2 separate regions of the Homo sapiens genome follow, and region 2 is linked to region 1. Evidence: promoter capture Hi-C in 16 types of primary human blood cells and fetal thymus (Javierre and others, 2016). All regions are on one chromosome and are shown on one strand. Each heading gives the region's core, a stretch centred on a gene start or on the middle of the fragment in contact. The rest is flanking DNA. Distances are from core to core; before and after follow the strand shown. Region 1 holds the start of PPID (peptidylprolyl isomerase D). Region 2 holds the start of TMEM144 (transmembrane protein 144).

Region 1 (6,679 bases), core at 2,140-4,639:
GAGTCAATTAAACCTCTTTCCTTTATGAATTACACAGTCTCGGGTATTCCTTTATAGCAGTGTGAAAAATGGACTAATACACAAGTGGTCCACACCCACCTGAAGTAGCAGCACTATCTAAAAAACTGGCTTCTCATGGAGAAATAACATTCTCGTTGCCCATTTTCACTTTATAAGTATATATAGTTCCCCTCCTTTGAAGATGCTCTTTACCTGTTCCCTCCTTACCTGTCTTCCTTGCCACATATGCTCCTGTGACTGATCTTACTCATATTTCTGACCTTAGAAAAGGCTACTGTGTTCAGTGCCCCTGCTGTGTGCTGAATGTGATTGTCTTTTTCCTATTAAAACACTAATTATATTGCATTGTAGAGGTTTATTCAATAGTCTTTCTCCCCCATAAGACTGTATAATTTGTGTAGTTAAGGATAAGGGGCCAGGCGTGGTGGCTCATGCCTGCAATGCTTTTGGAGGCCAAGGTGGGCAGATTGCTTGAACCCAGGAGTTCAAGACCAGCCTGGGCAACATGGCGAAACCCCATCTCTACTAAAATGTTAAATTTAAGCTAGTAGATCAGAATAAAAATGTTAATGTGAACTTATTGTGATATATATGAGACAAAATATAAGTTATCAGTTTGCAGCCCAGACATGAGACTGGATTAATGAATGATTTTGATGCTCTTGTTTATCAAGAGACACAGGAGTTTTGTTCTGAGCCGTCCTGGATCTTCAGGGAACCACCATGAATAAATACCATGAATAAACACCAGGAATTGGAGAACATAAGAAATTAACATTTTGTATTAACTTTAATGTGCTGGAATTTGAAAGGATCAGCAAGGAAATCTGATAGGAAATCATTTTGAATTACACTTAAAAATTAAAAAAAAAAATTACCTGGGCATGGCGGCATGTGCCTGTAGTCCCAGCTACTCAAGAGGCTGAGGTGGGAAGATCACTTGGGTCCAGGAGGTTGAGGCTACTGTGAGCTGTGATTGCACCACTGCACTCCAGCCTGGGTGATAGCACAAGACCCTGTCTCAAAAAAAAAAAAAAAAAAAAAAAAAGGATAAGGAATATGTTTTTTCATCATTGTATCATCAGCACTCAGAATGGAGGCTGGCATACAGTAAGAGCTAAATATTTGTCATATAATTGAATCAACTTTTGCTGAGTATCTATGTGGACATGCCTATGTATGTATGCATTTTGTTAATAAGGCAAATTTGTGATTACACAGAAAAATTCAATCAATATAATATCCTTACTGATTTGTCCTAAAATTTCACCGACACCTATTATTTATTTTTTCACAAAAGGTATGTTGGTATTTTAATTAAAAACGACTCTATAAATTGGTTTTATTATTTATTTATTTATTGTTTAGAAAATATTTTTTGTAGAGATGAGGTTTCACCATGTTGTCTGGGCTGGTCTTGAACTCCTGGGCTCAAGCCTTCCACCCACCTTGGCCTCCCAAAGTGCTGGGATTACAGGCGTGAGCCATCACACCCGGCCAACAAATTGGTTTTATTATGAGTAGCTAGTAATACATGTAATTTCTCTTTTACTTTTTAAAATATTATGAAAAAATTTAAATGTGCAAAATAAAGAAGAGTAGTATAATAAACTCCCATGCACCAATCATCTGCCTGGCCCTTATGTTTCATCCACAACCCAACCCACTTACCTGACTCCAGGTTATTTTAAAACAACTTCAGGCACTATAGCATCTAATTTTCAGTAATTTAAAAAAGAGTGTATAAGAATGCTTTAGAGATTACAAGGCAAATGCTTACACATTATCTTTTTCCATTCTCATACCCTGTTCTTTGGCACTTTACCGAAAAGGAAATGAGAAGGGTTCAGAGAAATTAAATGACTTTTCTTTGGTAACATGCCTAGTATACATGTAGTCAGAACTTGAAGCTTTTGCTTTTTTTTTTTTCTTTTTTAACATCAACTTTCGTGCTTAGTCCAGTGTATAACATCACAGGCAAATTCAAATTGAGAATAGGAATCAGTTGTTCTTTAACCGTAACCCTTCTAACTTTTACTTATCCTAAGACCGGGTAGCAAGTAGGGCAGGAGCCTTCATCTAGAGGGATGGTGACAGCTCTGATAGGGGAAAATTAGCACTGGTCTTTCCTTCCAAAAAGCCACTCTGGCTGCTGCTGTTGACACAAGGCTCCTGGCTTTTGAGACATTATTTGAGTGCTGGATTCCAATACTTTTTACTTTCTCATAAGAAAAAAAAATGTGAAGCATCTAAGGATATCTCCTGCCTTATTGATAAAGTAAGCCTCAGGCTGAATCCAAATTGCTGAGCTCCAATAGAACTACAGGGCAAAGCATCTACACAGGGAATTGCCACTCTTCTCCAAAATTAGGCTTTATTAAGAGGCAAGGCTATGTTCTCCTCATATATATGTGTGTGTGTGTGTGTGTGTGTGTGTGTGTGTGTGTGTGTAAAAAGTAAATGTTTTACACAGATCCCCATAAGGGAAAAGTGGGCTATAGTAATACAGTATTTTTTTGTTTTTCTTTTTTTTGGGGGGGGGGGGGACAGTTTCGCTCTGTCACCCAGTCTGGAGTACAGTGGCGCGATCTCGGTTCACTGCAACCGCCGCCTCCCGGGTTCAAGCGATTCTCCTGCCTCAGCCTCCCGAGTAGCTGGGACTACAGGCAAGCACCACCACGCCCGGGTGATTTTTTTTTTTTTTATTTTTAGTAGAGACGGGTTTCATCATGTTGGTCAGGCTGGTCTCGAACTCCTGACCTCAAATGATCCGCCCGCCTCGGCCTCCCAATGTGCTGGGACTACAGGCGTGAGCCACCGCGCCCCGCCAAATACAGTTTTATCAGGAATCAAAACTGTGCTCTCTTCTGGACTCTCAGCTTTAGCTGTTTGGAGCGTTTAGTCTAAGCCTTACCACTTACATTGTAATGTGAAGATCAAATTGTAACGACATGGCAATAATAAGGCTCCTATTGGTTGGGTACCACCAGTTTATGCCAGGCATTGTACTGATTCATGTCTTTAATCCTCAAAACGACCTTCCGAGGTCAGCGTTTTTATTCTTTTTCCAGAGGAGCAAACTGAGTTTCTGAGAAGTCACACCCAACTTGGTGGCAGAGCTGACGCTGGCATGGGGTTGACTCCAAAGCTCTCTACGCCACGAGGGTGGGAAAGACAACGAAACACAAGCGAGAAGAATAATGAGAACTGGGATCGCAACTTCATTAAATGAGAAGCCAGGAACAGGTGGCGGAGGGCACGCGGTTCGCTGCACGGAGTCGCTCAGGCTCTTTGAAACACCGCGCGGGGGAGCGGGGCGGTGCCGGAAGTCAGGCCATGGCTTCCGGTTCTTGCGTCGGAAGTGGCCGGTCAGCGTCGCTGCCGGTCTCCGGCGGAGACGGACTCTGGAGTTTGGGCGGCCCGGGCGGCCACTAGGTACTCTGATATTCCGTACTAAACACGTCTGCAAGTCAAGATGTCGCACCCGTCCCCCCAAGCCAAGCCCTCCAACCCCAGTAACCCTCGAGTCTTCTTTGACGTGGACATCGGAGGGGAGCGAGGTGAGCGGAGTCTGACGCTCGCGGAAAAGCCCCGAGGAGGCGGGGGTTCCCGGGATTTGGGGGATTCCAAGGGCGGAATGCGGCTCCGGCCGGTGACTGCTCAGTTTCGCGGAGGGGATGGCTGCCTAGGCTGGTCCGCCGGAGCAGGCCCGGAGATCTAGGGCTAGATCGATCCAGCGCCCTTGTATCAATGCCATCGGTGGTGCGGAAGTTTCTGGAAATTTCTAGTTCGGGAATTGTGGCGTCCTTTAGGTTTGCCTCCTGATTTGGTGGCACTTCCACGCCACCTTTGCACTACCAAGTTAGCATGAAATATTTTATGTTTGCAATGGGACAGTTCGGAAAGCATATCCTGGGATATGCGTCTGCTGGGCCCCAGGAAACTATATTTGCCACATGAGATAATATATCAGCACGTGCTGTGTTATTTATACGTTAAAGGGACTTGTTTGCTCATTGCTTTTGCCTTATTACTGATTCTTAATTTAGAGGTCCGTTCAGATGAGCAAACATTTTCTCTTAATTTGCCATTGGGAAAATGCGCTCAACGTAGTGATGGTGTTGCCTAGGTTACATAGCCGCTCAGAAGTTCCTAAGGCCTGGTGAATTAGGGAGCGTGTTGCTTTGTAACTGGATTGGCCTTGTTCTGGAACACGTTGGAATTGCTGGCCAGGCAATGTGTTTGAATGCATGTACAGGACACACACACGTTTACACGTACATTCAGTTTGTTGCAACTAGCTAGGGCTAGGTTTAATCTCACCTGTCTTAGCTGCTATCTAGAGGAGGAATTTTTACAGCTTTTGCTTCAGAGGTTGCATGAGGCAGTTTGCTCAGAGCACAAAGGCTGCAGGTATACGTAACACGTGGCAAGTCCGCCCACCCAAAGACTGTTTAATTTTCTCCCGTTGGTTGCTTGGTGATTGGAAATTCTCAGTACCTCTTGAAGAAATTACTCAGGATTTAAAACTATTTGTATTTAATGATATCTCTTACATGGTGCTAATCTTTTGGCTACTATAATTGGTTATGATCCTTAGTGTAATGTTTCAAATCTGTTTATATACATACATGACAGTAGGTAGACTAAATTTGAATATTAGAATAAAATAAGATTCACTAATTCTAGTGAGTATATTCAAAGGAAATGAAGTTTGTATGTCAAAGAGGTATCTGCACTCCCATGTTCATTGCAGCATTATTCATGATAGCCAAGATAATGGAATCAAACTAGGTTTCCATCTACAGATGGATTTTTTTTAAAATTTGATATATGTGCACAGTGGAGTACTATTCACCCATAAAAAATAATGAAATCTTGTCACTTCTGACAACATGAATTAATATGGAGGACATTATGTTACATGAAATAAGCTGGGCACAGGAAGACAAGGCATGATCTCACTTACATGTGGTTTCTAAAAAGTTGACCTTGAAGTAGAGAATGGAATGGTGGATTTCAGGGGTTGGGTAGATGTTGATCACGAGAGACCTAATTTCAGTTAGAAAGGGGGAATAAATTTAAGAGATCTATTGTATAACATAATGACTATAGTTAGTAGCAATGTGTTGTGTTCTTGAAATTGCAAAAAAGAAAAATTACAGTAAAGGGGAACTTGGTAATTCATGATTGATCTGCTACCATAATTATACCAACCTTCTTTTTATCATTTGTCTATTTGGTTGTTTTGCATACTGACAAGATTTTCTTTTCTTTTAGTTGGTCGAATTGTCTTAGAATTGTTTGCAGATATCGTACCCAAAACTGCGGAAAATTTTCGTGCACTGTGTACAGGAGAAAAAGGCATTGGACACACGACTGGGAAACCTCTCCATTTCAAAGGATGCCCTTTTCATCGAAGTATGTGTAAATTTTCTTAATCTTGTTATTCTTCATACAGACAAGTCCTGTTCTTTAGGATTTGGGGAAGAAAACACTAAGTAGGAAGTGAAGCTTAAAAAGTACTATTAGCGTCCATGTCTGAGGCAGTAACGCAGTTTCGTAAAGGTTAGGCTGTGCGAGGTGGAATTACTTATGGTACTAAGGTTTATCTATAGAGAAATGGACTCCCCTAGCTTTACCCATCCTCTCATTCTCCTTCACTCTAAGATGATTTGATTGAGAAAGGAAGGCCGTAGTCAACCAACCTTAGGTAGCTTCATTGCCTGGTGACAAAAAAGTTATGCATAGACCGGGCGCAGTGGCTCACGCCTGTAATCCCAGCACTTTGGGAGGCTGAGGCGGGTGAATCACGAGATCAGGAGATCGAGACCATCTTGGCTAACGCGGTGAAACCCCGTCTCTACTAAAAATACAAAAAATAAGCCGGGTGTGATGGTGGGCGCCTGTAGTCCCAGCTACTCGGGAGGCTGAGGCAGTAGAATGGCATGAACTCAGAAGGTGGAGCTTGCAGTGAGCCGAGATCACGCCACTGCACTCCATCCTGGGCGACAGAGTGAGACTCTGCCTCAAACAAACAAACAAACAAACAAACAAACAAAAAAATGCATAATTTTTGGGCCTGAGTGCTTGGGAAGGCAGCAGATTTGAAGATTCAGTGTTTTGGGCACATGGGTGATAGTGTGGTCAAAATATGCCATTTCATACTGCTTATTACACTTTGTAATGAATCATACTTTTGTTTAGTGATAATGGTTCTCCCAATAGACTGCAGGCTCTATGAGTTCAAGAACTGTATGTTTTCACCATTTTGTTTTTGGCATCTAATACAGTTATTGAGTAAGAACTCAGTAAGTATTTGTTTAATAAATAGGCAAATAAGCAATAATCACAAGAGCAACATTTTTTAAACGATTTATTAAGAAAAAATTAACTTTTTAAAAAATATTTAAAATGTTTACTTTCATGTTTAATAAAAACTTGAAATATGCTAATAAACTATATGCAGAAAATATTTAACATAGCAAGTGTGAGACTGCTATCTTTAGAAAGGTCTGCCTGCAAGAGTAGCACTTGTTTGGAGTCTGGGAACTTGACACTTGTACCATTTCCTAAATAGTAATGGTGATTTACTATGCCTAGCCTATTTGTACAAACATGAATGTGTGCTCTCTTTTGGGGAGTCTGGAATTTTGGT
Region 2 (6,679 bases), core at 1,502-4,001, 510 kb after region 1:
AGCATAATGGGAAAATGGGGCTAGGAGAACAACACTCAACCTAATTAAAATAGTAGTACAGTTTTAACTGGTTAACTGGTTAATTACATGATGCTGTAATAAATAGGGCATTTTAATTGAAAAACACCAGAAGTTTGCTCCTGGAAGTGAGCATCCAAAGGGTTGCAGCTTACGAGTTACTGTGAAGGTATTGGGTGAGGAGTTGGGACAGGAGATGTGGTTGGGTGGAATACATCATAACCACATGTGATGAACTAAGGGAGCTGGTCGATATTTGAAGATTGTACGTGTGTCTGCGTGCATTATGTGTATTATCACACATCTTTATTCATCTAGGTGCAGTCTTCTGTGCCTATCTAGAGGTTTCTCAGGGACAAAATTGCACATAAGCAAGCCAAAAATCTGTTATGCTTACATTGTTCTCTAATATATCAATCATGTTGAAGATTCATGTTTTCAAAACAGGTGTTATAGTAGAACTGACTATAAATTTCTTCCATTCATATAATGGCCCAAGAGATTTCCTGACTGTACCCTCCCTAACTTTACCATGAAACAACCTTAATGGTTCTCCTATTCTGACTTTCAGACAAACTGGTATGAGCACTGTCAAATGACTAATTTTAAGCTCTATTCACTAGGTATCAAGATCAACATGATTTATTTTTGTAGCTATACTTTTAAAAGACCAAAAAAGGAACTTCATTTTTAAAAATAATATAACGTTAACAATCAAGGAAAAATAATTACCATCACCAGTATCAAATTTTTTAAGTGGCACAAAATTTGAGCCAAACAAAAGGATAGCTACAAAACAGGAGATGTAACCAAAGGTTAGGTCTGCTCCATTGTTGCTCATGATTCCAGTCTTAATGAGTTAGCTGGTTCACTTTAGACTTGATGTACTTTTCAGGAGCTTCTGAAATAAAAGAAAAAATGAAACAATTGAGACGTGAATCTGTGACCAAATTGTGATTAACATATTATATTTATTGAATTTTTCAAAAGCACGCTAAGACTCCTTTTTGCAGATAGGATATTACACAACTATATATAATGTTTGTACTTCATGTTAATTTATTCTATCACCAAATATTTTTGATCACTAGCCTACAATTTAAAAAGAACAAGCCCTGAAGACAAATTTTTAGTACATTACAAAAAAAATTCTCCTGTGTAGGTTCCATCACTGCAGAAAGTTTTAGCGGATAACGCTGCTAAGCTTATTTAACAGCTTTAGCTTCTCTATGAAGAAAGGACTAAAACCACAAATAACCAAGAATTAGACATTTTTTCATAAAGTTACCATTTGGAAAAGGCCACTGAATACAATTCAGATTTTTAGTTTCCCGAGATACATGAGAAAAAAGCACCACCAAAGTAATTTTATCACAGGAGGTACAGCGTCTTTCCACAATGCCATCTTGGATTCATATTTTGCACACTGGCCCTTTGGAATAAGCCCTCTGGAATAGAAGCAGAATAATCCAGTGGTTTCTTTTTTCCTGCAAATTTAATGTTATAGTAATAACTTCTTGTATATATGTATTGAATAAAGTACACCTGAAATCACCTTTCCTTGTTATTTTATTTCACAATGACAAATATTTAAAGGTCCATGTATTGTTCCTTATGTGTTCTTGCAGAGAATATTAAATATACAACAACCTACAAAATATGTTATTTACCATTATTAAAGATAGTTTAACTGAAAACAAGGATCACTTCAAAACTGGTCAATAAACTTTAGTAAAGAAAATGTGTATTTGAAATTGTGTGGACTTTCTTAAAACAAAAACACATTGCTATTAAGAAAACATCCTCTATAGGGATGTGGTTGAGGAAGACACACTGAGGCACATTTCAACATTGACACATTAACACTATTCAATAAAAATAATTATTATTCTACTGTTAGGCTCAAAGAGAGGTTCAGCCCTGCAGTGACTTACATGGGTTATGGCTCAAGGGTCAGCTGAGGCAGGTGCTTGCTGCTAAGATAACAGAGGTGCCAAGATAACAGAGGTGCAACAGGTCAGAGATGCAGGAAGTGTCTTGAAAAGCTAACCTATGACTAAAAAGACACATGACTGGGTGATAGCTAACACATCATTTTCTCCCCATTTTAATTCACAACAAGCAAAGCAAAACAAAACCTTTATGTGTACATTGATAGAAGAGAATGTCTAACCTTCAAGAGTGGCAAATTATTTTATTGAGAAGGCTCCACAAAGGCCCTACACCTCTGAAACGGAGAGACTAATTTGACGTGCTAATTAGAGTGCATGAGGTGCATTTCGACTACTGAATAAACATCAATCAGTTATTACCTATAGATAAATGAAGTTTATTGCATGCAGCTCTTGTACATTTCAGAGCATGTGATCTTATTTCATTGTGAATTGGCAATAACTTACTGTCTTTAAAAAGGCTCTACCGCTCTCTAAAATAATGAAATTTTTGTGGAAAAGAAAAGCAGTATCACTCCATCCAGCACATTTTTCCCAATTCTTCCTGCACAAAACCTAAAAAGTCTCAAACATTATTTTAATGTTTTCTTTTCAGCGTTCGCTGATATTTTGTCAAACTATATTAATTCATTTTTATTTTATTACTTTTGTTTCATTTATTAGTAAATACTTCTCCTTTACATTTTTCCTAGTAATTTAAACTTCTACGCAGACTTTGAAAAAATTCGTATTTGGTATGTTCTGATCAATACTGCTTGCTCCACTCCAACTAAAATTTCATTTTTAGTTTCATGTTGATTTTCCCAAATCTCCAGGCAAGTACCGCCTGTCTTTGGGCTAAAATTAACAGTGCTTGAATGTATTTATTCCGAGCCTTGATTTTTCTTTTTAACCATGAGCACGTTTCTGAAAAATCATGAGACGCTCCCCTGCAAAGCGACTTGGCTTTCCTTTGAGTGGCTGTACTCACTGCGTTCCGGGCTGGCGGCTGAAGCTCCTTCCTACTCAGCGCCGGCGCGATCCGCCCACTACGTGCCAGTGTGGAGCCGGAGCCTGACTCATTCCCTCTACGTGCTGGGGGCGGCCTGGCCAGCCTTTACTTTCTGCGGGGACAATTTCCCATACACCGGCCGGGAGGAGAGGGGAGGGCTCTAGCACCCGTGACCCAGACTCCCGTTCCCAGGGTGCTCGCGAAGAGCGCCAATCCAGCCTTGACTTCCTGCTGGGACGTTTACCTCCACTTAAGGAGGGTGGAGAAAGGAGGGCTTTAGCACCGGTGACCTAGAGGCCTTCATAGGACAGCAGGTTGGGGAACGCCTTCCTTCAGTTGCTGTGCTGGACTGAATTGTCAGGTGGCTCAAAAGGAGTCGTCAAGCCCTGGGTCGGTCAACCAGGAAACTAGAAGAGTTTTGTGTATTTCAAGAGGTGATTATTCAGGAAACTCTCAGCATGTCACCCTCTCTAAGTGTCACAGAGGGAGGTATTATTTGTGCAGTTTATGGATAAAACAAAAGTCTGAGGAATTTCACACCATTGTAAAAGATTATCTCAAGTGAATTTTTCCACTTGGTATTAAGAAATTCATCTGCACCACTGACGTCATTAACATTTCTTGTGACATTACAAGATTTCACTTGTAATCACTAATTCTTTGTAGATGCACCTAAGCCATTTATCTGTACAGGCCATTTATCTGTATTTTTTTTTTTTAAGACGGAGTCTCGCTCTCGTCCAAGCTGGAGTGCAGTGGTGCAATCTCGGCTCCCTGCAACCTCCGCCTCCTGGGTTCAAGCGATTCTCCTGCCTCAGCCTCCTGAGTAGCTGGGACTACAGGCACCCACCACCACACCTGGCTAATTTTTTTGTATTTTTAGTAGAGACGGGGTTTCACCGTGTTAGCCAGGATGGTCTCGATCTCCTGACCTCAGGTGATCCGCCCGCCTCGCCCTCCCAAAGTGAGGGAGTCCTCTCAAAAAAAAAACAAAACAAAAAAAACATCTCTTCATGTGGGTTCGCATACACCAAAGGATGCAAACTTTAAGTTGGAAAGGGGAAGTGTAGGTTCTGTGCTAGTCTGAGTTCAAAGAAGCCTTCTCTGAGGAAGTGCTATTTAACCCGAGACCATCCAGTGGTTGGTAATGGGTGTAGCATTCACAGGAAGGAGAAAACACAAGGACTGTTAAAATATGACATTTCCTAGAAGGAAGTTCTGCCTTAAACATTAATCACATCCATAGACTATCATGTCAGATGAGCAGATGGGAAGGCAAAATAACATTTCATTTAAAGAATTAAAGCAGCAAAGCTTTTTCACTTAAGGAAGAGGATTAATTTAGCAGTTCAGAAAGATTTTGAAGAAATCAGTTCCCCTTTCCACACATGCACACCTAAGACACACACACATACACAAACTTGCTTCCAAAAATATAGGGCCTAAATCCAACCTAGAATTGTTTCACTTCATGGTCACAAGATCATGTGGTTTATTCTTGCTTCACTCACATGGAGAAACTGAAGCTTGTGTCAGCATTTGCTGAGAATTTCTAAAGTCTAAAAGTGAGTTGGGGGCTGAATTAGGCCTGAGAAGATTCATTAGGGATATGCTAGGCCATTGCCTTTTACATTATGCCACAGAGCAAATCCAAACATGCATGACTCTATTCTTAAACTAAAATTTTTCTTTCAAATTGTTTCGTATACATGAATGCCTAAACAGAATGGTCTGTATTGGGAGAGTCCTGGCAGACACTAGAAGATCCAGGTTCTGACTTTAGCTTCGTCTGTTAGCAATATTTCTCATGGAAACTCATTTAATCTCTTTAAACCTTAGTTTTCTTATATGTAAAATGATAATAATAAGACCTGTGCACCTCCCCCTTTTATGTGGTCAAAAGAGATATATATATATATATATATATATATATATATATATATATATATATATATATAACATTATTACTAGGACTTCTGGTTTCTGCTCTGACATTTGAAAGGTGTGAAAGTCTCCACTTCCATCATCACAACAAGAAAAAAATGAGCAAATCAAAAATCAACTACTCTTTTTAGATCTGCAGAGAATTGATGTCATAGGACATGCCACCTCTTTGCAAACTGAAGAAATAGGTGAATACGGAGAATTACAGCTTATCAGGACAGCAAAAGCCACTGGAGCCAGTAAAGGATAGGGGGGCATTTATACAGTATTTGGCCTATTGCTGAAGGCTGAGTGTGGACTAACTTGAGAGTTGAAAACTCAGAGACAGTGGGAGTCATTCATATGGGAGCATCCACACATTAATGAGTTTTACTTTCAGAAGACAGGACAAAAGTTTCCTCTTTTTTCTGGCATGTGGGAGGAAAACAATAACTATTTGAAATATACTCAGAAACAAAAGCCTGTCCTCAAGGTAAACTTTACCCCAGAGCTTTATCTGAATTAGAGAAAAGGCAACTAGACAGTTTGAACACCTTCTACACTTTCTTTCTCACATAAGGAGAAAAACAAAAGAAGAAACCCTTATGAAGTTCACAGCTCAGGGATTCTGGACAACTAGAAAACAGAGTTTTAGATGTTGGCAAAGATACAGAGAAAAGGGAATGCGTATATACTGTTAATGACAATGTAAACTAGTAAAACCCCTACGGAAAACAGTATGGGGATTTCTCAAATAACTGAAAATAGAAGTACCATTTGGCCCAGCAATCCCACTATTGGGTATCTACTTGAAGGAAAAGAAATTGTTATAATCAATGACACTGGCACTCATATATTTATTGGGGTACTATTCACAATTAGGAATCATCCTAAGTGTCCATCAGTAGTTGATTGGATAAAGAAGATGTGGTATATATAAACTATGGAATATTACGCAGCCATAAAAAGGAGTGAAATCATGTCCTTTGCAGCAACATGAATGGAGCTAGAGGCCATTATCCTAAGTGAAATAACTCAGACAGAAAATCAAGTACTGCATGTTCTCACTTATAAGTGGGAGCTAAACAATGGGTACACATGGACATAAAGGTAAAATAATAGATGCTAGGGACTCCAAAACAGGGAAACGTGGGAGAGGAGAGCAGATTGAAAATTATCTATTGGCTGTAATGTTTACTATTTGGGTGATGGGTTTACTAGAAGCCCAAACCTCACCATTACAGAATCTATCCATGTAGGAAACCTGCACATGTGCCTCCTGAATCTAAAATTGTTTAAAAAGAAATAAGAATTTAAAAATAGAGATTTTATCATAACATTATAGAATGTATCAACTCTCCAATATCTTACGACCACATAAATAGTGTTTTGGTATAATAACTGTGGATCACAACTAGAGAGAGTTGCAAGACACAGACTCTGCTTAAAAATGAGTCTCTAGGAAAACCCAAAGACAACAAATAGGGGAGACAAAAAGAAAGATATTAGAGAAAATAGAAGCCTCTGATACTTACAGCTACAACAACCATTAAGCACAGTCTAACTTCTGGCCCAATACACATAAAAACTAAAGGTCTACTTATCTTGTTTTCTATTATCTGATACATCATGCCTCACTTTCAATGAACAATTATAAGGCATGCTAAAAGGCAAGAAAAAACACAGCTCTGAAATGTCAAAGCAAGCCTCAGAACCAGATTCAGATATGGCAGGGATTTGGGAATTATGAGACTGGAAATTTAAAATATGCTATGACTAATATGCTAAGAGATCA

The links. The method cuts DNA at HindIII sites, captures the fragments that hold promoters and counts their contacts. A CHiCAGO score of 5 or more calls a contact.
Region 2: a fragment that was not itself captured here is called in contact with the fragment with the promoter of PPID in region 1 in 5 of 17 cell types (erythroblasts, monocytes, megakaryocytes and 2 more); the score reaches 8.1 in erythroblasts.

The regions. Positions count from the first base shown.
Region 1 is chr4:158,720,106-158,726,784 of GRCh38, reverse strand. PPID (peptidylprolyl isomerase D) reads left to right here and starts at 3,389. Exons shown (of 10, transcript NM_005038.3): 1 at 3,389-3,581; 2 at 5,302-5,442. The coding sequence starts at 3,497. RefSeq lists enhancers at 2,811-3,395, 3,283-3,762, 3,396-3,979. The HindIII fragment of the contact is 3,604 bases long and covers 1,934-5,537 here.
Region 2 is chr4:158,206,848-158,213,526 of GRCh38, reverse strand. TMEM144 (transmembrane protein 144) reads right to left here and starts at 3,041. Exons shown (of 13, transcript NM_018342.5): 1 at 2,941-3,041; 2 at 1,953-2,074; 3 at 751-919. The coding sequence starts at 859. RefSeq lists enhancers at 3,109-3,198, 3,099-3,653. The HindIII fragment of the contact is 3,053 bases long and covers 1,225-4,277 here.